Regions from separate parts of the Homo sapiens genome. Here regions 1, 3, 4 and 5 are each linked to region 2. Evidence: promoter capture Hi-C in 16 types of primary human blood cells and fetal thymus (Javierre and others, 2016). All regions are on one chromosome and are shown on one strand. Each heading gives the region's core, a stretch centred on a gene start or on the middle of the fragment in contact. The rest is flanking DNA. Distances are from core to core; before and after follow the strand shown.

Region 1 (3,410 bases), core at 682-3,181, 200 kb before region 2:
ATGTCTCTTTATGTCTTTCACCCATTGTGATATTGTGAAATATATATTTGGTCTTCAACCCTGTTTCCTGCCAAACAACCCCTAAAATCCTTAGACTCTCCAAAGAGATGTCTTTTTGTGTCTTAATGAATTGACTGATGGCTGGGAGCACCTCCGTAGCTTCAGGATGGCGACTGGTCACCTGAAGAGTAAGTCGATTAAACGATTTAATCAATTATGCCTACATAATGAAGCTTCTGTAAAAACCCAAAAGGACTGGGTTCAGAGAGCTTCTGGACAGCTGAACACATACAAGTTCCTGAAAAGTGCTGCACCTGCGGACGTCATGGAAGCTCCGTGTCCCTTCCCCATTCCTCTCCCTATGCATCTCTTCATCTATATCCTTTATAATAAACTGGCAAACTTAAGTGTTTCCCTGAGTTCTGTGGGCCGCTCTAGCAAATTAATTAAACACAAGGAAGAGGTCGTGAGATCTCTGATTCATAGCCAGTGAGTCAGAAGCACATTCCTTGCAATTGGCATTGGAAGTGGGGAGAAGTTCCATGGGACTGAGTGCTCATCCCCGTGGTGTCTGACGTTACCTCCAGATAGATAGCATCAGATTAGAATTGGATTGAGGACACCCAGCTGGTGTCTGCTGCAGAATTGATTGCTTGCTTGTTGGTGGAGAAGAAATCTCCCACATTTGGTCACAGAAGTCTTCTGTGTTGATTGTTGCTATATGAGTGCAGAGGAAAAACAGTTTGAGTTTTCCCACCTTTACCCACTTGTAATGGAAGTTTTTGTCTTGTTTTGTTGTTTTTAACTGTTGAGTTTTGAGAGAGATATCCTAGATTTGAACCCTTTGTCAGATGGGTGGTTTGCAAATATTTTCACCCGGTCAGTAGCTTTGTTTTCATCCTTAACATGGTATTTTGGAGAGCGAAAGTTTTAAATTTTGATGAAATCCAACTTATCAATTTTTAAAATTGATCATGCTTTTGATGTCAGGTCTAAGAATCTGCCATCGAGCCTTAGATCCTGAAGATTTTCTCCTAAACATTTTATAGTTTTATGTTTTATCTTTGAACCTACGATCTATTTTGAGATAATTTTTGTATAATGTATGGTATGAGGTTTCGGTTGAGGTTCATTTTTTGTTTATGGATATCCAGCACCTTTTGTTGAAAAGACTGTTTCACTTGTGGAATCAATCCTTCCTCCATTGAATTGCTTTTGCTACTTTGAAAAATCAAGTGTCTGTACTTGTACGGGGCTGTTTCCAGGTTTTCTATTTTGTACCATCGATCTATGTGTCTGTTCCTCTGCCAATATCACAAAGTTTTGATTACTACATCTTTATCATGTCTTAAAATCAGGTATATTGATTCCTTCCACTTTATTCTGTTTTGACTCTTTCAGTTCTCTTTTTTTCCCTTTGTTCATATAAATTTAAAAATAGTCATATATATTTACAAAAATATGTCTAGAATTCTGACAGAAATTGTGTTAAACCTATATATCAGTTTGGATAGAATTGACATTTTTATTATGCTGAGGCTCACAGTCCATGGATATAGCATGTCTCCCTGTGATGGTTAACTTTAGGTGTCAACTTGAGTGGGTTAAGGGATAGCCAGATAGCTGGCAAAACATTATTTCTGGGTGTGTCTCTGAGGGTATTTCTGGAAGAGATTAGTGTCTGAATCAGTGGACTGAGTAAGGAAGATCTGCCCTCATCTAATGAAGATGGGCACCATTCAATCAGTTAAGAGCCTGGATAGAACAAAAAGGCAGAGGAAAGATGAATTCACTCTTTCTTCAGGAGCTGGGACACCAATCTTCTCCTGCCCTTGGATATCAGAACTCCAGGTTATCTGGCCACTGGACTCCAAGACTTACACCAGTGCTATGAGATTACCCAGTCCCAATCTCTACCTCTGTAGAGTCTGAGGCCTTCAGCCTCTGACTGACAGATACGCCAACATCTCCCCTGGTTCTCAGGCCTTCAAATGCAGAACGAGCCACTCCACCAGCTTCTCTGGTTCTCCAGCTTGCAGACAGCATATCGCGGGACTTCTCGGCCTCCATGATCACGTGAGTCAATTCCCATAGTAAATCCCATCTCATCCATCTATTGATATATGTATCCTATTGGTTCTGTTTGTCTGGAGAATGCTGACTAACACATTCCTCTTTATTTGAATCTTCTTTGATTTCTTTCATCAGTGTTTGCAGTTTTCAGCATACAAGTCTTATATATGTTTTGTTAAATTTATAGCTATTTCATTTTTGAGCAAATTAAATGGTATTATATTTTAAATTTTGGTTTTCATGGGTTTATTGCTAGTATATAGAATTAAAGGTAACTTGGCCAGGCATGGTGACTTACGCCTGTAATCCAAGCATGTTGGGAGGCCGAGGCAGGTGGATCACCTGAGGTCAGGAGATTGAGACCAGCCTGGCCAACATGGTGAAATCCTGTCTCTGCTAAAAATACAAAAATTGGCTGGGCATGGTGGCGGACACCTGTAGTCCCAGCTACTTGGGAGGCTGAGGCTGGAGAATCACTTGAACTCTGGAGTCGGAGGTTGTGGTGAGCCAAGATCATGCCACTGCACTCCAGCCTGGGCGACAGAGTGAAACTATGTCTAAAAAAAAAGAATTAAAGTTAACTTTTTGCATGTTGATCACGTAGTCTGTCACCATTCTGAACTCACTTATCAGTTCTAAGAGTCTCTTCTGTAGATTCTGTAGAATTTCCTACAAAGGCTATTATGTCATCTACAAATAGAGATAGTTTTATTTCTTTCTTTCTGATATGTATGCCTTTTATTTCCTTTTCTAGCCTTATTGCCCTGGCTAGGACTTCCAGTACTATACTCAATAAAAGTGGTGAGAGAGGAAGAAACACTGTGACTGAGAAGTCATGGTGAGGCCAGGGCCTGTCACCACCACTGCTGCCACCGAACAACAGAGAAAGCTCCAGGAGTACCTAGAAGTCGAAAGGAACTTCAAGTGCCAAACACTGAGCTTTATCTAAAAGCCAAAAATAATTGCCCAAATCTATCCAAGAGAATGTTATCAATCATGCTGTTTTGCCTGTTAAAGCATAAGGCCCATCAGCATTAAACTCCAGGCCAGACAAGCCAATATTACAAGGTCCCAGAAGCCAAAGTTGAAGCCACTAAAACTGGGCAAAAGGCTGAATATGTTCCTTCTAACCAAACTGTAAGCCTCCAGCAGTAGCTTACAGCAGCACAAAGCTGGATCATTCACCATGGAAAAGCTGTCAAGAAAACCCATGGGGTCACTTAATGCACAGGATTTGAAGACTACAAAGCAGCAGTTAACATATCAAGGAATGTTAAGTGTACAGACTCCATAGGAAATGCCCGCATTGAAAATTAATCTTTGGTTAGCTTTCTAAA
Region 2 (3,716 bases), core at 1,065-3,564:
AGGATAACAAAACTGACTAAAATCTGTTGGAACCAATATGGCCAACTGGAGTTTGCTCAGAATGAGCTTGCTGATGTCACAGCCTGAGTTTCTACCACGTATTTCATGATGACGCCCCAGGGTTTTGCACATGGGAGCCGTGAAGAGGCATAGAGAGATAACTGTACATGCCCAAGGACTTTCCAGACCTCCCCTTTCCTTTCACAAATCACATACTAATCCCAGAATCCAACCCCTAAACTTTTGCTAATAAAACTACTGCCTTGAAGCCAGCACATGGAGCTAGATTTGAGGTAGACTTCTGTCTTCCTGTTAGTCAACTTGCAATAAAAAGCTTTTCTTTTCTCAAAAGCCTGGTGTCACAGTATTGGCTTCTAGCACATCAGGCAGCAACCCCCTTTCACTTGGTAACAAGTGGATAAGTGAGGGTATAGAACATGAGTCCCTTCCTGGTTTGACAAACTGCTTAGATGATGGTACCATATACAAAACAGGCATGGTGTGGGAGAAGATAAGGTTTGTGAGTGCAGATCTGAAACTCAAACTTGAATATTTAAGGTATACAAAGAGGCCAGGCTCAGTGGCTCACACCTGAAATCCCAGCACTTTGGGAGGCTGAGGCAGGTGGATCATCTGAGGTCAGAAGTTCGAGACCAGCCTAACCAATATGGTGAAACCCTGTCTCTATTAAAAATACAAAAATTAGCCAGGCGTGGTGGTGGGCGCCTGTAGTCTCAGCTACTCGGGAGGCTGAGGCAGGAGAATCACTTGAACTCGGGAGGCAGAGGTTGCAGTGAGCCGAGGTCATACCATTGCACTCCAGCCTGGGCAACAAGAGCGAAACTCTGTCTCGAAAAAAAAAATACATATATATATATATATACAAATGAAGATGTCAAGAAGGTTGCAGAATATACAGGTCTGTATCATGGGCCCAAGATTACTCAGCTCTTAGGAGGTGCGTTCAGGATTCTAGCCTAGATTATATCTGATTCCAAAGCTGGCACTCTTGGATACTGACCCGTGAGTACTGACTCTCCAAGGAACTTAGAGTCTAATGAAAGGTGAGAAGATTCCTCAGAGTAGGGGAAGGGGAGGATGATGGAGGCTGGAGGAATGTTCCTGTCTAGTTCCAAGCAGGGGCCATGGATAGGAATTCCTTTGTGGAATTCATCATTTCAGAACAACGGGATAGGATGATGACATCACAAGGGGATGGGGACTCTTGTCGTCTCAGAGAGAACGTGCCAGCCTGGCTCTGCTTTCTTTTCCTAGAGGGTCTAACACCTCTCCCGGCCCTGACATCTAGCTGGTTCCTGAGGAGGAGGCAGAAGTCATGAGGAGGCAATGGGGAAACAGCCATGGCAGCCAGTGCCTGCCTGTGGATGCTTGGACATTAAAGGGTCACCAGCTGAGTGTGGGCTGAGTGTCCCTGAACACAACATTTGTGCTTAGGAAGAACCCATTCCAGAGCTGAGAGAGAAGGATGCCAACATGCTGCTTCCTCCCTCTTTCTGGGGGCATTTCTTCTGCCCCTCCAATCCCATCTCTGAGAGCTGGTCCCAGGTCCAGCCCAAGCAGGAGAGGCAGCCCTCACCTTCCCAGGTGTTTGTAGGCATGTTACTCTCCCTCCTAGAGAGTGTTCCCCGCAGCTCCGCCTTCCCTGCAGGCCTCCTCCATCCTCTAAAGCACAAATCATCACCACCTGCACAACTCGAATGTCTTTCTCAGCCATGCCTGATTCCTCTGCAGGAAGGAAAAAGGAAGCAGTTCCTGGTAGTGTATGGAGGGACCCACAGAAAAGCCAAGAGCCCACAGCAGATATTGCTTGTTTTTTACCTCTAACTACTCTGGAGTGCAAGAAAGGGCATCCATTGTAAAGTCCAACTCTTACCAAGTGGGTGAGGCTATAGACATCTTGTCTCTTTCTTCAGCTGTGCAGCTCAGACAGGCCCAGATGTTGAGCTCATGCAGGAGCTAGACCCATACCTGCGCATCATGTGGATGAGGCCTTTGTCTAGCCTATGTGTCTGAGGCTCCTAGATAGGCAAAGGCCATGAAGTTGGGGAGAACCTGTGAGATGGGATGAAACTCAGGAAGGAGTATAAGGCTGTGGGTGTCAAGCCCCCCAGCCCCAGCAAAGCTAAATACTTCCAGCAGCAACTTCCTAGCTTGAAGCAACCTTGTCTGTTCAATTTTATAATCACAAAGGAAAAAGTGTCCCAGTCCCCTGGCCTTTCCTCTCATCACAATCCCCTTCCTCTGACATCACAGAGGCAAGAACTGTCTTCTCTGCTCGGAGCACTGAGTCGAGGGCATCTCCAGGACAGGCATTCAGGCAGAGCAAGCTCCAGGTTTCACCACAATGCCCATCCCTGCCTCCCCACTCCACCCACCTCTGCCTTCCTTACTGCTGTATCTGCTGCTTGAACTGGCAGGTGAGTGGGGCCTCAGTGTATGTGTGTGGTGGGTTCTCCCCTCTGCCTGTTTAGTGAACTCTCCCTCACCTGTTCCCATAGAATTTCTTTTGGGAGGGTTTTCTCCATCTTATCCCAGAACAGGCAGAACTCAGAAGACTACACTGGGATGGTCCCCAATTCTGACAAAGTCTCCCGGTGGCCATGTCTGTTGCAAATCTCTTTGCTCAGGTAAACGACTCACACCTATGGTCACAGGGCGGGGCACAGCATCCATCACAGCTCTCACCCTCCAGCCTCTGGAGGGTGTAATTTATTTTATTTTATTTTTACCTTTACTTATTTTTTTGAGACAGGGTCTCACTCTGTCACCTAGGCTGGAGTGCAGTGGTGCGATCTTGGCTCACTACAACTTCCACCTCCTGGGCTCAAGTGATTCTCGTGCCTCCAACTCCCAAGTAGCTGGGACTACAAGCACGCGCCACCATGCCCAGCTAATTTTTGTCTTTTTTGTAGAGATGGGGTTTCACCATGTTGCCCAGGCTGGTCTCAAACTTATGAGCTCAAGAGTTCCACCTGCCTCGGCCTCCCAAAGTGCTCGCATTATAGGCGTGAGCCACCACACCTGGCCCCTGGCAGATTTTACACTTCTTTCTGTGAAATTCAGTTTTTTATTTCTCTGTTGCCACTGCATTTGGCTGCTCTTAAAAAGTACTGCAAACTGGGTGGTTTAAATTACAGAAATTAATTTTCTCACAGGTCTGGAGACTAGATATTCAAAATCGAAGTGTGGGCAGGGTTGGTTCTTTCTGAGGACTGTGAGGTTGAATCTGTTCCATGTCTGTCTCTGAGCTTCTAGCAGTGGTAGCCTCAAACATTTGTTGGATGGCAGGTGGCACCACCCTCCCTGTATCCTCACATCATCTTACTCCCATGTATGTCTGTCTCTGTGTCCAAATTTCCACTTCCTATAAAAACATCCACCATATTGGATTAGCACCCACCTCAATGACCTCATTTTAACTTGATTTCCTCTGTAACTCTATTTCCAAGTAAGGTCACATTCTGAGCTACTTGTGGTTAAGACTTCAACATATATTTCGGAGGCATACAATTCAACTCATAATAGCCTCAACATGAAATTTTAATAACTTAGATATATTCTTTGTTGGTTTATGTACTGCATTTATATCTGTCTGTGCTTTATACATAGGAAGGGTAACTATAAAGCTTCCTCTTTTTATTCAATGGAGAGTTAAGGATGACTAAAAATATTTAGGTAAAAGCTAACTTAAGATA
Region 3 (3,723 bases), core at 1,051-3,550, 160 kb before region 2:
GATATGTAAGTTGTTCCCAACCTTGGGCTACTAAAACAACGCTGCAGTGGGTGGCCTTGTATATGTACATGCGTCATCCTGCTCAGGTGGAAGACACCCACTGGAAGTGACATTGCCGGGTCACAGGGTGTGTGTGTTTTAAGGTATGTAGCTATTGCTAATGTTTTCTTCTTGATGTTGAAATAATCAGCACCCCCCACCACCACCCTGCATCCCTTGAACATAGGTAGGGAAGGTGGTTTTACCCTGATTTTGCAGATATTACAAAGACATTGAAATTCCACGATGGTTCATATTGTGCCTAGGCAAGCACCCTTATTAAGGCTCAGGAGTAACTCAGATGTGCTGACTCCTAGTAGAGTGTTCATTCCTGTTTTCCAAGCCATTAACCTAAACGATGCCCTGGATTAGATTGGAGAAAAGTGAGGAGGGGACCAAAGAGTGGCAGCTGTCCCAGATGCTGTGTCTTCATCTGGCATTTTCTCCTTATAACCAGTGCTATGAGAGGGAGACCATTTGCTGCCTCATTTATAGATGAGGACACAGGTTTAGAGAGGGGACCTGACTTGTGAGCAGGCAGAGGAGCCAAGTTTTGACCCCCAGCTGCCTGACACACAGCCCTTGTCTCCGCAACACCCAGCTGTGCTTGCTGAAGTGTAGGGAAATGCTTCAACCTTCTCGTTCTAAACTGTTGTATTGTTCTGTTCTATATCACTAAACATTAAAAAAAAAAAGAAAAAAAAGGCTTCTTCTTGTGTGGGTAGGAGGGGCTGGCTTGACAACCCCCATCAGAAAGTTCCTGCAGGCATTATATGTTATGTTGAACCTGTCCTAAAAGATATGTCTTGGCATTTAGGACTCTTCTTACATGTGCCATTTCTCCTTCATCGAGCAGCATCCATGGAGCTGAGTCCAGCCTCCTGCCTTTCAGCAGACCACACTGAAACCACCTTTGCAAAATTATGAGAGACAGTGAAAGAGATCTAACTTAACTGACTCCATCTTGCTTCTAACCTCCAAGCTGTCCTCGTTCATTCCTGGACGTAGGCTGAACTAACTTTGGGAGAAACTTAGTTTATAGTTTAAACAAAGATGGTAACAGCCCTTTCCCAAAGCAGACCTTCTTGCCTGGAGACTAGAATGCCTTTGTAGGACTAACATTAGCCACAAGATGAGAAATTATGGTTTAGGAGTCATGCAGCTGGAGGCTACAAGATTCTGACCCTCCCTAAACTGCTCCTAAGATCAGTGCTTGAGATATTTGGCAGACTCTGAACTTGATGTATCATCCGGCACCACCCAGATCCAAAAACTGGCTCCTCTGCTCTTATGGCCACCTGCCCAGGAACTGACTCAGCTCAGGAAGACAGCTTCGACTCCCTATGGTTTCATCCCTGACCAATCAGAACTCCTGGCTCACTGGCTTCTCCTTACCCACCAACTTACCCTTAAAAACTCTGCTCCCCAAATGCTCGGAGAGACTGATTTGAGTAATAATAAATCTCTGGTCTCCCGCAAAGCCAGAATTGTGTGAATTACTCTTTCAAGCAATTCCCCTGTCTTCATAAATCGACTCTGTCTAGGCAATGGGCAAGGTGAGCCACTTGGGCCATTACAACGTGCCCACCCACTCATGGTGCCGAAGACTAAGGATGTGGGAATGAGACATTTCCTAGAGTTCTCATGCCCCGTGTGAGCAAGAGTTTACATTCTTTTTTGGGCTATTAGGAACCCAAGGTCTTCTGTTTATGGGTACAGAGTAACCATAGGGAGCCCAAGGGGAGAACTACAGAGTAACCAGCCCTGGGCACCCAGAAGGGAGACTTCTCCCTAGAATTGCATTAAGTCAAGAATCTGAAAGGGACAAGGGAGGTGGCAGTCATTGTTGGGGATGTTGAAGTTCTAGTGCTTACTCTTTGATGAACAGGGAAGCTTGGCAAAACACAGGAAATGCCCAAGTCATGCACGGGGGATAAGAAGACAGTGCCTTCATCTCTCTTAGTCTCAGTTTTCTCATCTGTAAAATCATGACAATCTTGGACTCCTTTAGGAGAGTGGAAAGGACTTAAGATTCTCTCTGTAAATCACCTAACACATTGTAGGCACTCTCCCAAATCACGTGTTATTTCAAGGCTGTGTGATCTCAGGCAACCCAGTTCCCTTTGCTGAGCCTGTTTCTTCATATGTAGGGTGTAGATAATTACACCAATCATTCCAGGATGTTAAGAGGATACAGCTAATCTGGGGAGAGAATAGACCAGTAAATGATGGGGTTGTTTTCCCAAGGTTGTGTGATCTTGGTAAAGTCTTGGCTACCCTCGAGTCCTCAGTTTTCCCATTTGTGAAATGGTGATGATCATGGTCACCATTATGGACTCTGTGGGGATTGGAGAGGATGTGCACAGAGTTCTGGATGGTGATGGTGTTAGGGTTATTACTGAGTGTCAGTAGCACAGTGGTTAGGAGAGCATGGGTTGGAGCCCCATCACCTGTGCCACATCTCAGCTCTGACATTTCCCAGCTCTGTGATCTGGGACAAGGCACTCCACCATCGTGGGCCTCGGTATCCTTACCAGTCAATTGTAACTTGACTTGGGAATATCTTCTCCAACTGTATGTGTTGTTTGTTTACTCTGCTGATTATTTATTTTGCTGTTCAGAAGCTTTTTAGTTTAATTAGGTCCCATTTATTCATTTTTGTTTTTGTTGCATTTGCTTTTGGGGCTTAGTCATGAATTCTTTGCTGAGGCTGATGCCTAGAAGAGTTTTTCCAACCTTGTCTTCCAGAATTTTTATAGTTCTAGGTTTATATTTAAGTCGTTGATTCATCTTGAATTGATTTTTGTATGAAGTGAGAGATGAGAATCCAGTTTCATTCTTCTACATGTAGCTTGCCAGTTTTCCCGGCACCACTTATTAAATAGGGTGTCCATTCCCCAACTTATATTTTTGCATGTTTTGTTGAAGATCAATTGGCTGCACATATTGGGCTCTATTTCTTGGTTCTTTATTCTGTTCCATTGGTCTATGTGCCTACTTTTATACTAGTACCATGCTATTTTGGTAACTATAGCCTTGTAGTATAATTTGAAGTCTGGTAATGTGATGCCTTCAGGTCTGTTCTTTTTGCTTAGTATTGCTTTGGCTATGCAGGCTCTTTTTTTTTGTTCCATATGAATTTTAGGATTGTTTTTTCTAATTCTGTGAAAAATGCTCCTAGCATTTTTATGGGAATTGCATTGAATTTGTAGATTGCTTTGGGCATTATGCTCATTTCCTTAATATTGATTCTTCCAATCCATGAGCATGGGATGTGTTTCCATTTGTTTGTGTCACCTATGATATCTTTTAGCAGTGTTTTGGAGTTCTTGTTGTAGAGATTTTTCACTTTCTTGGTTAAGTATATTCCTATGTATTTTATTTATTTTACAACTGTTGTTTGTTTTCCTAGGTATTTTATTTTGCAGTTGTTTGGGACTGAGTTCTTCATTTGATTCTCAGTTTGGTGGTTGTTGGTGTGCAGCAGTGCTGCTGAGTTGTGTACGTTGATTTTGTAACCTGAGACTTTATCAAATTCATTTATCAAATCTAGGAGTCTTTTGGAGGAGTCTTTAGGATTTTCTAGGTATATAATCATATCATCTGCAAAGAGCAATAGTTTGACTTCCTCTTTTCCCATTTGAATGCTCTTTACTTCTTTCTCTTGCCTAATTTCTCTGGCTA
Region 4 (3,282 bases), core at 235-2,734, 230 kb before region 2:
TGTTTATCCATGGATCCACCCATCCATCCACCCATCCATCCATCCACCCACCCATCCATCCATCCAACAAACATTCATCCGGCACTTATTTACACTAGTGACCAAGGACATGGTCCCTGTCCTCCAGAGCCTACAGTCTAATAAGGGAAAGAGTTATTATGCAACTAGTTTCAAGTTAACAGTTTAATTATAACTGTGATAAATGCTCTGCAAGAGAAGTATTTGAACCCACAGGGAGACATTAGGGTAGAAAAGACTTCCCTGATGAAGAATGTTTCACCCAAGACCTCACTGTCGACTATGGTAGCCAGTAGCCACACGTGACTATTGAGTGTCTGAAATGTGGCTAGTGTCACCAAGGAACTGAGGGTAGATGAATAATTTTACCAAACTTTATAAAGTAACTATTCTGTGTCAGGCCCTGCCCAGTCCAAACTAGTCTGGTTGAAAATGCCAACATTACATCTAGTTCAGCGTCCACTTCCTTCTCTCACCCCAGCCCACTGCTGCCTCCAAGTCCCTGCTGAGGGATCTGGAAGGGATGGAGGTGAAGCATTCTTTTGTCCCTCCTCCTTTCCCTGAATTGGGTCTGTCTATCATCTGGTGTGTTAGGGCCTGGGAAGGGAGATGGAAAAAGAGGGACTTCTTTTACCCAGCAATGCTCTGTTCACTATGGCTGGACTCTGGAAGCCAGCTGCCTCCTAGGGCACAGGTGTGGATTCCTAGGAGGATCCTGAATGTGTGCATGTGTGCATGCATGTGCACGTGTGTGTGCCCATGTGTGTATGCTGTGGGGGTACACAGTCTGCTGCACAGTCTCTTTTATGCATGATCTGATCCAGGTTCACAGCTCCCCGCTGGAGTCCATGCTGCAGTCTCTTACTCCTAGGCCCTCTTGCCAGTGGTCATCTCTCTTGAGTGGGATGCTCTAAGGTCGGCTCCCCCCTTTCAATGAGGGTCTCTCCATGGACCTCACCCCCTTGCCACTCTGCATGGAGGAAGCTTGAGCTGCTGCCCTGCCACCCCGTCACTCTACCCTGCTGTCTCTTTTCAGTTCCTTTTTCTCCTGCTCAGGGCAACATCAAGGTGGATCAGCAAATCCACTGTTGCTTCAGGAGACACCTGGAAAAAGAAAAGCCAGCCTCCTCCTCCTGCAGGCACGTAATATCTAGGAGTCATTTTGGGGTGCCTTGCTTGGCTGAGTAGTGGTGGGGGGTTGTGAGGTCAGGGGAGTTTCCATAACAGCCTCACCCAGGCTAGAAAACTCCTCTCTAGCCTCTCCCTCCACTTTAGCTGAGCGTACAGACCCCAAAGAGATGGGATGGCTGGGGAGCAGGCTGGGCTTGGCTGCTTTGTAATCAGTCTTGAGAACATACCTGGCCCCAAAGGTTCATTTGTTATTAGCGAGTATCTATTCTGTGCCCAGCACTGTGTGGCTGCTGGTTACAGCCATGAACAAAAAGCAGTAGTCTTCAGGGCAAATCATTTGTTTTTCATGAGGGAAATGGATAAAAACGAGTAATATACATCAGGGCTAACCATTGGAAAGCCCAGTAACGTAGGGTAAGGAAATGGAGAGAGACCAAAGGGAGAGGTTGTTTTCATAGGGAGGTCAGGGAAACTGGTGGCTGTGTTTCAAACTCATGTTTCCCCAACGTGGAGCCTAGTAGACAGTTCTGGGCCATGGGAAATCCGTGCCACCATTGTCCAAGCCCAGTTAAGCTGTGAGGCAAGGGTTGGGTTTCAAAGTCTAGGGTCTTTCTTGGTTGCACGTGGTTGTGTATGTCAAGGCTCACTTCTCAACCCTCTGGGCCCATATCTGATCCATTCTGCATTCCCAGAAGCCGTGTCTGGGCCTGGGACAGGGCAGGCTCTTGATGCTGCTTGTTCAGCATGGAGGAGCCTCCAGGACAAGGGACATCAAGGCTCAGCCTATCAGAGGCCAGCTCTGTGGCTTGAAGCTTGAGGCAGAGCTCAGCCGCTTTCTGGTTTTGCTCATGGGGAATCAGGGACAGTCGGAACCCATTAAAAGGCTCCAGATGCCTCCCTGGTTAGACACCTCAGGCCTGAAGGTTTGCAGCTTGGAAGGAGGCCGTGGCCACAGTGACCACTTCCCTCACTGTGGCTCAGGCCTCTGTTCCAGGCATGGCAGAGAATGGGGTGGGGTAGGCAGCTGGGAAGTATAAGGCCTGCTCCAGGCTGTCAGAGGCTGGTCAGTGGCTCCTGGGCTCTTTCAGGGCCTTATCCAGTGGTTGCCACCAGGAACAGACCAGGAGCACTGTGAGTCTCTCACCATGGCTACCACACCTGGGCGGGCCCTGGGCTCCCTCCTGCCCACCCTTCTGCTGGGACTCACAGGTGAGTCCTGATTCCTGCCCAGAGAGACCCTCAGGGCAGGCAAGGAGACCCCCAGGAATGACCAAATCCAGCCACTGTGTCTTTCTGAAGGAAGACTGAGGCTCAGAGGAGGTGACTGAGCTGTTTTCCTGCCAGTCAGGTGCTGTTTTGCATCTTTTCTTCAATGTAGACCTTGCGGACAAAGGGAGCTGGTGGGAGCTTGGGGGTCAGAAGAGGAAGTGACCTAAGGGTGAGGGGCTCGGGGGAGGTCAGGGGGTAAAAGAGGAGCCCACCTCCCAGTTTTCCCGATGTCAGCTCTAGTCTGGGTGGCTACCTGTTCTGGGTCAGAGAGGGTGTAAGGGTGGAAAAGACAGAGCGAGAGAAAGAAAGAGAGAGAGAGAAAAAAAAGAGAGAGAGAGAAGTCGCCAGAGTGATGGAGCCTCCGGCATTGGAGGCATGGAAGAGTCCTGGACCCAAAGTCAGACAGGCCTTCTTACCCTCCCTCTTTAGTCACTGATAGGCTGTGTGACCTTGAGCAAGTCACGAGACCTTTCTGAATCTCTGTTTCCTTTTCTGGAAAGTGAGGACAATAATACCAGCCTCCCACAGCTGAGATGTGGAAGAAAAGAAGCACACATGGCTGAAAATGTTTTCTGAACCACACGGTGCTGTGTGCAGGGTGGGTGATGAGGGCAGAGCACAGTCCAGAAGGTACCAGAGCTGTGTGCTAAGAGGACAAGTTCCTATGGCCTCCTGCGCTGCCCTCTGCCTGTCATCCTGCTTGTCATTGGTTGTTTATTTGCCTTTCACCCCCATCTGACCAGATGCTTCTCAAGGGTGGGGGTCCTGTCTGACTCATCTCTGTGGTCTCAGCACCCAGCTCTTGACCTGGTGCAGAGCAGGGGCTTAGGGAATGCTGTGAAGACTTGGGGAGTTTCTTGCTCC
Region 5 (3,459 bases), core at 337-2,836, 140 kb before region 2:
ATTTTAATTTTGCTTTTCAGTGGAAGTTTAGGTTCCAATGGGCCCCATTTCAGATGAGCAGAGCCTTGCATGTGGGACAATCTACGGTTCATGATTGCAACAGGAGAGTATTGTTCCTAGATCTGGACTCCAGGATGGGAGAGCCCAGTAGGTAACCAGGCATTTGTTGTTTTAATGGAATATAGCACAAGGGTGAGAGGGGCATTGTTTTTGCATCAAAGGCCCTGGGGAGATGTATGGCCATCATGAATGGTCTAGAAACTCCAAAAAGCATGAAAGAAATTGCTAAAGTCTCCACAGAGAAGAGGTATTTTTGTTTCTTTGTTTATAGGCACTAACAGGGGTGCCTATTGATTTTAATTTGTAAATAAACTTTGTAAAAGAAGAATATGTTGCCACTGGCGCCTCAAAACAACTTAGAGATGCTGGATAATGTGATGTTAATATGCACATCACATGAATCTCCTTTGAAGAGGTTGTTATCAATGTTATGTCATCCTGTGCTCTTGAAGAAATGTAGATGTCATTATTGATATTTAAACAGGATCCTCACTTCAGGATAGAGAGTCTTGGCAGAACTCCAAAAGGTAACATGAAGCTGCACATAGCACAGCAAAAGAAAGCCATCAGTGTAAAAAGCCTTCTCAAGTTGTGGAGCCAATCAGAGTAGCAAATTAGTAAGCCATGAATAGTTAAAGAGCATCTCCTAGGAAATTTCCACCCCAGTTTAGAATGATCCCATTCTCATTGCCATTGGTATTGAAAATGCTAAAGTCAGGCTATTGGGTCTTTATGAATCACTCTAAGATGGTCATGAAATTTTCACTTGGAAAGGCATGTGGAATATGATTTATTTTACTCACAGGTCCTAGAGAGGGAAGTAGGGCATGCTACGTAGAAAGCCATATGAGAAGAGCTCCTAGGAAGCAGGCTCAATCAAGCAGATGGGGAAGCAAGAGAGAAAGAATTCCTCAGCAAGTGCCTTTACTGGGAGTCAGGGTAGAGGGTACAAGCAAAGAGCATGATGGGATTTACTGGTGTCTTTTTATGGGATTAGGTCACAATATGGGAGGGCAAGAAAGGGAAATTGTGCCAGGAGCCAGCCTTATCACACTGGTGCACCTGGTCACCTGGGCAGGGTACTCACAGCATGATTGTGGGATGTTGAAGCATCAGAAAAATATGAACTAAAATAAATTTACATGTAGCAGGACTTTTTTTTTTTTTTTTAGACAGAGTCTCACTCTGTCACCAGGCTGGAGTGCAGTGGCACGATCTCGGCTCACTGCAACCTCCAACTCCCTGGTTCAAGCTACATGATCTCGGCTCACTGCAACCTCTGACTCCCTGGTTCAAGCTATTCTCCTGCCTCAGCCTCCTGAGTAGCTGGGATTACAGGCATGCACCACCACGCTCAGCTAACTTTTGTATTTTTTAGTAGAGACAGGGTTTCACCATGTTGGCTATGATGGTCTTGATCTCCTGACCTCGTGATCCGCCCGCCCTGGCCTTCCAAAGTGCTGGGATTATAGGCATGAGCTACCATGCCCAGCCTGGACATTTTTATTTATACAACTTGCAGTTGCCATGTAGCATCCTTTTATTTCTACCTGAAACCACTCTTGTAGGTAAGGTTTAATGGTAGTGAACTCTCTTAGTTTTTATTCATCTGAGAATATCTTAATTTCTCCCTCATGTTTAGAGGATAGTTTTCCCAGGTATAAGATTCTTGGTTGATAGGTTTTTCCTCTTTCAGCATTTTCAGCATATCACTCCTCTGCCTTCTGGCTTCCAGTGCTTCTGATAAGAAATTGGCTGATCATCTCATTGAAGAACTCTTGTATGTGAGGAATCCATTCTCTATTGCTGCTTTCAGGATTCTTTCCCTGACTTTAGTTTTCAACAGTTGGATTATAATGTGTCTTAGTGTGGGTCTCTGAATTTTTCCTTGAGTTAAACTTGAGTTTCTTCAGAATCTTAAATTTGAGGATTCATGTATTCTATCAAGTTTCAAAAGGTTTTGGGGTATTATGTCTTCAAATAATCTGTTCCTTTCTCTCTTCCTCTTTTCTTCTTCTAGAACTCTAACAATGTTTGTGTTGATCCATTTGATAATGTCCTACAATGTCCTCGGGTTCTGCTTGTTTTTCTTTATTCCTTTTTCTTTCTATTCCCCAGTCACAATAATTTCAATTATTCCATATTCCAGTTTTCTGAATCTCTCTTCTGACTGCTCACACCAGTTGGAGAACACCTCTAGTGGATTTTTCAATTATTGTACTGTTTAACTCTTAAGTTTCTGTTTATTTTTTATAATTTCTCTTGCTGTTGTTCTTATTTTATTAATGCATCATATTCCAATGTTTCTTTAGTTTTTTTTCTGTTGTTTTCTTTAGCTGTTTGAGCATGTTTAAGACAGTGATTTAACATCTTGGTCTAGTGTCAGAAAGGGCCCAATATATGACAAGGGTCTTTGTAGGACATATGACAATGGAAGCAAGATGTGGGAGTGATGGGAAGATGTAACTGTGAGGAAAGGAATGTGGCAGCAAGGAACAGAGCCTCTAGAATACACACAGCTTTGCTGACACCTCTTATTTAAGGGGTAAAACATGGTGCTTTCGTATACATAGACATAGTGTAATGGTTATTACAGTCAAGCAAATGAACATATCCACCCTCTCACATAGTTACCGTGTGTGTGTGTGTGTGTGTGTGTGTGTGTGTGTGTGTGTGTGTAGGGCATCTAAGATAGACTCTTTGAGCAAAAATACTGAATTCAATGCAATGCTATTAACTCTAGTCCTCATATTGCACATTAGATCTCTGGACTTCTTCATCCTACCTTTCTGCAGTTTTGTATCTTTTGGCCTGCATCTCCCCATTACCTCTCCGACTTCACTCCTGGCCACCAACATGTCATCCTCTATCTTTGTATATCTGAAGATTTTTCTCCTTGATTCTGTCCAGTAACATGATTTTGGACTTCTGACCTCCAGAACTATAAGATGATACGTTTCTTTTGTTTTAAGATGCTAAGTTCTGATAATTTGTCACATCAACATTAGGAAACTAAGGTAATGTAATTATGCTATGGGTGAGAAATTCTCAGGGGCTTAAAACAATGTTGTACTTGTTAGTTAAGCTGCATGTTCAGTGTGTGTGGAGAATTCATGGTCATTCAGGCATCCAGGCTGATGGAGCAGACCTCATCAGAGCCTCGTAGGTCTCTGTGGAAGGGAGAAGTTAATCCACAGAGGCTCTTGCAGTTAAATGCACAGCCCACAAATTATACCCATCATTTCTGCTCACAACTCAGTGGCCTAAAGGAGTCACATGGCTCCACCCAATGCAATGATTCAGAAAGTCTGGCCAGGCGCGGTGGCTCACACCTGTAATCTCAGCACTTTGGGAGGCCAAGGCAGGCAGATCAACTGAGGTCGGGAGTTTGAGACCAGC

What was found. The method cuts DNA at HindIII sites, captures the fragments that hold promoters and counts their contacts. A CHiCAGO score of 5 or more calls a contact.
Region 1: a fragment that was not itself captured here is called in contact with the fragment with the promoter of SIRPD in region 2 in 6 of 17 cell types (activated CD4 T cells, non-activated CD4 T cells, total CD4 T cells and 3 more); the score reaches 8.3 in activated CD4 T cells.
Region 3: a contact is called between a fragment that was not itself captured here and the fragment with the promoter of SIRPD in region 2, in 5 of 17 cell types (non-activated CD4 T cells, total CD8 T cells, total CD4 T cells and 2 more). The highest score is 6.8, in non-activated CD4 T cells.
Region 4: a contact is called between a fragment that was not itself captured here and the fragment with the promoter of SIRPD in region 2, in 3 of 17 cell types (activated CD4 T cells, non-activated CD4 T cells and naive CD8 T cells). The highest score is 6.3, in activated CD4 T cells.
Region 5: a fragment that was not itself captured here is called in contact with the fragment with the promoter of SIRPD in region 2 in 3 of 17 cell types (activated CD4 T cells, non-activated CD4 T cells and total CD4 T cells); the score reaches 5.8 in activated CD4 T cells.

The regions. Positions count from the first base shown.
Region 1 is chr20:1,758,439-1,761,848 of GRCh38, reverse strand. It overlaps the pseudogene CKAP2LP1. Among named protein-coding and RNA genes, the nearest start is that of SIRPG, 100 kb to the right of the region's middle. The HindIII fragment of the contact is 3,391 bases long and covers 236-3,410 here.
Region 2 is chr20:1,556,303-1,560,018 of GRCh38, reverse strand. SIRPD (signal regulatory protein delta) reads left to right here and starts at 2,314. Exons shown (of 4, transcript NM_178460.3): 1 at 2,314-2,438. The coding sequence starts at 2,366. It overlaps LOC107985409 (a long non-coding RNA gene), which reads right to left and starts at 2,012. Exons shown (of 3, transcript XR_007067493.1): 1 at 1,895-2,012. The HindIII fragment of the contact is 3,313 bases long and covers 337-3,649 here.
Region 3 is chr20:1,716,801-1,720,523 of GRCh38, reverse strand. It overlaps the pseudogene SIRPB3P. Among named protein-coding and RNA genes, the nearest start is that of SIRPG, 61 kb to the right of the region's middle. The HindIII fragment of the contact is 731 bases long and covers 1,935-2,665 here.
Region 4 is chr20:1,781,204-1,784,485 of GRCh38, reverse strand. No RefSeq gene overlaps it. Among named protein-coding and RNA genes, the nearest start is that of SIRPA, 110 kb to the left of the region's middle. The HindIII fragment of the contact is 959 bases long and covers 1,005-1,963 here.
Region 5 is chr20:1,698,324-1,701,782 of GRCh38, reverse strand. It overlaps the pseudogene SIRPB3P. Among named protein-coding and RNA genes, the nearest start is that of SIRPG, 42 kb to the right of the region's middle. The HindIII fragment of the contact is 6,521 bases long and covers 1-3,459 here.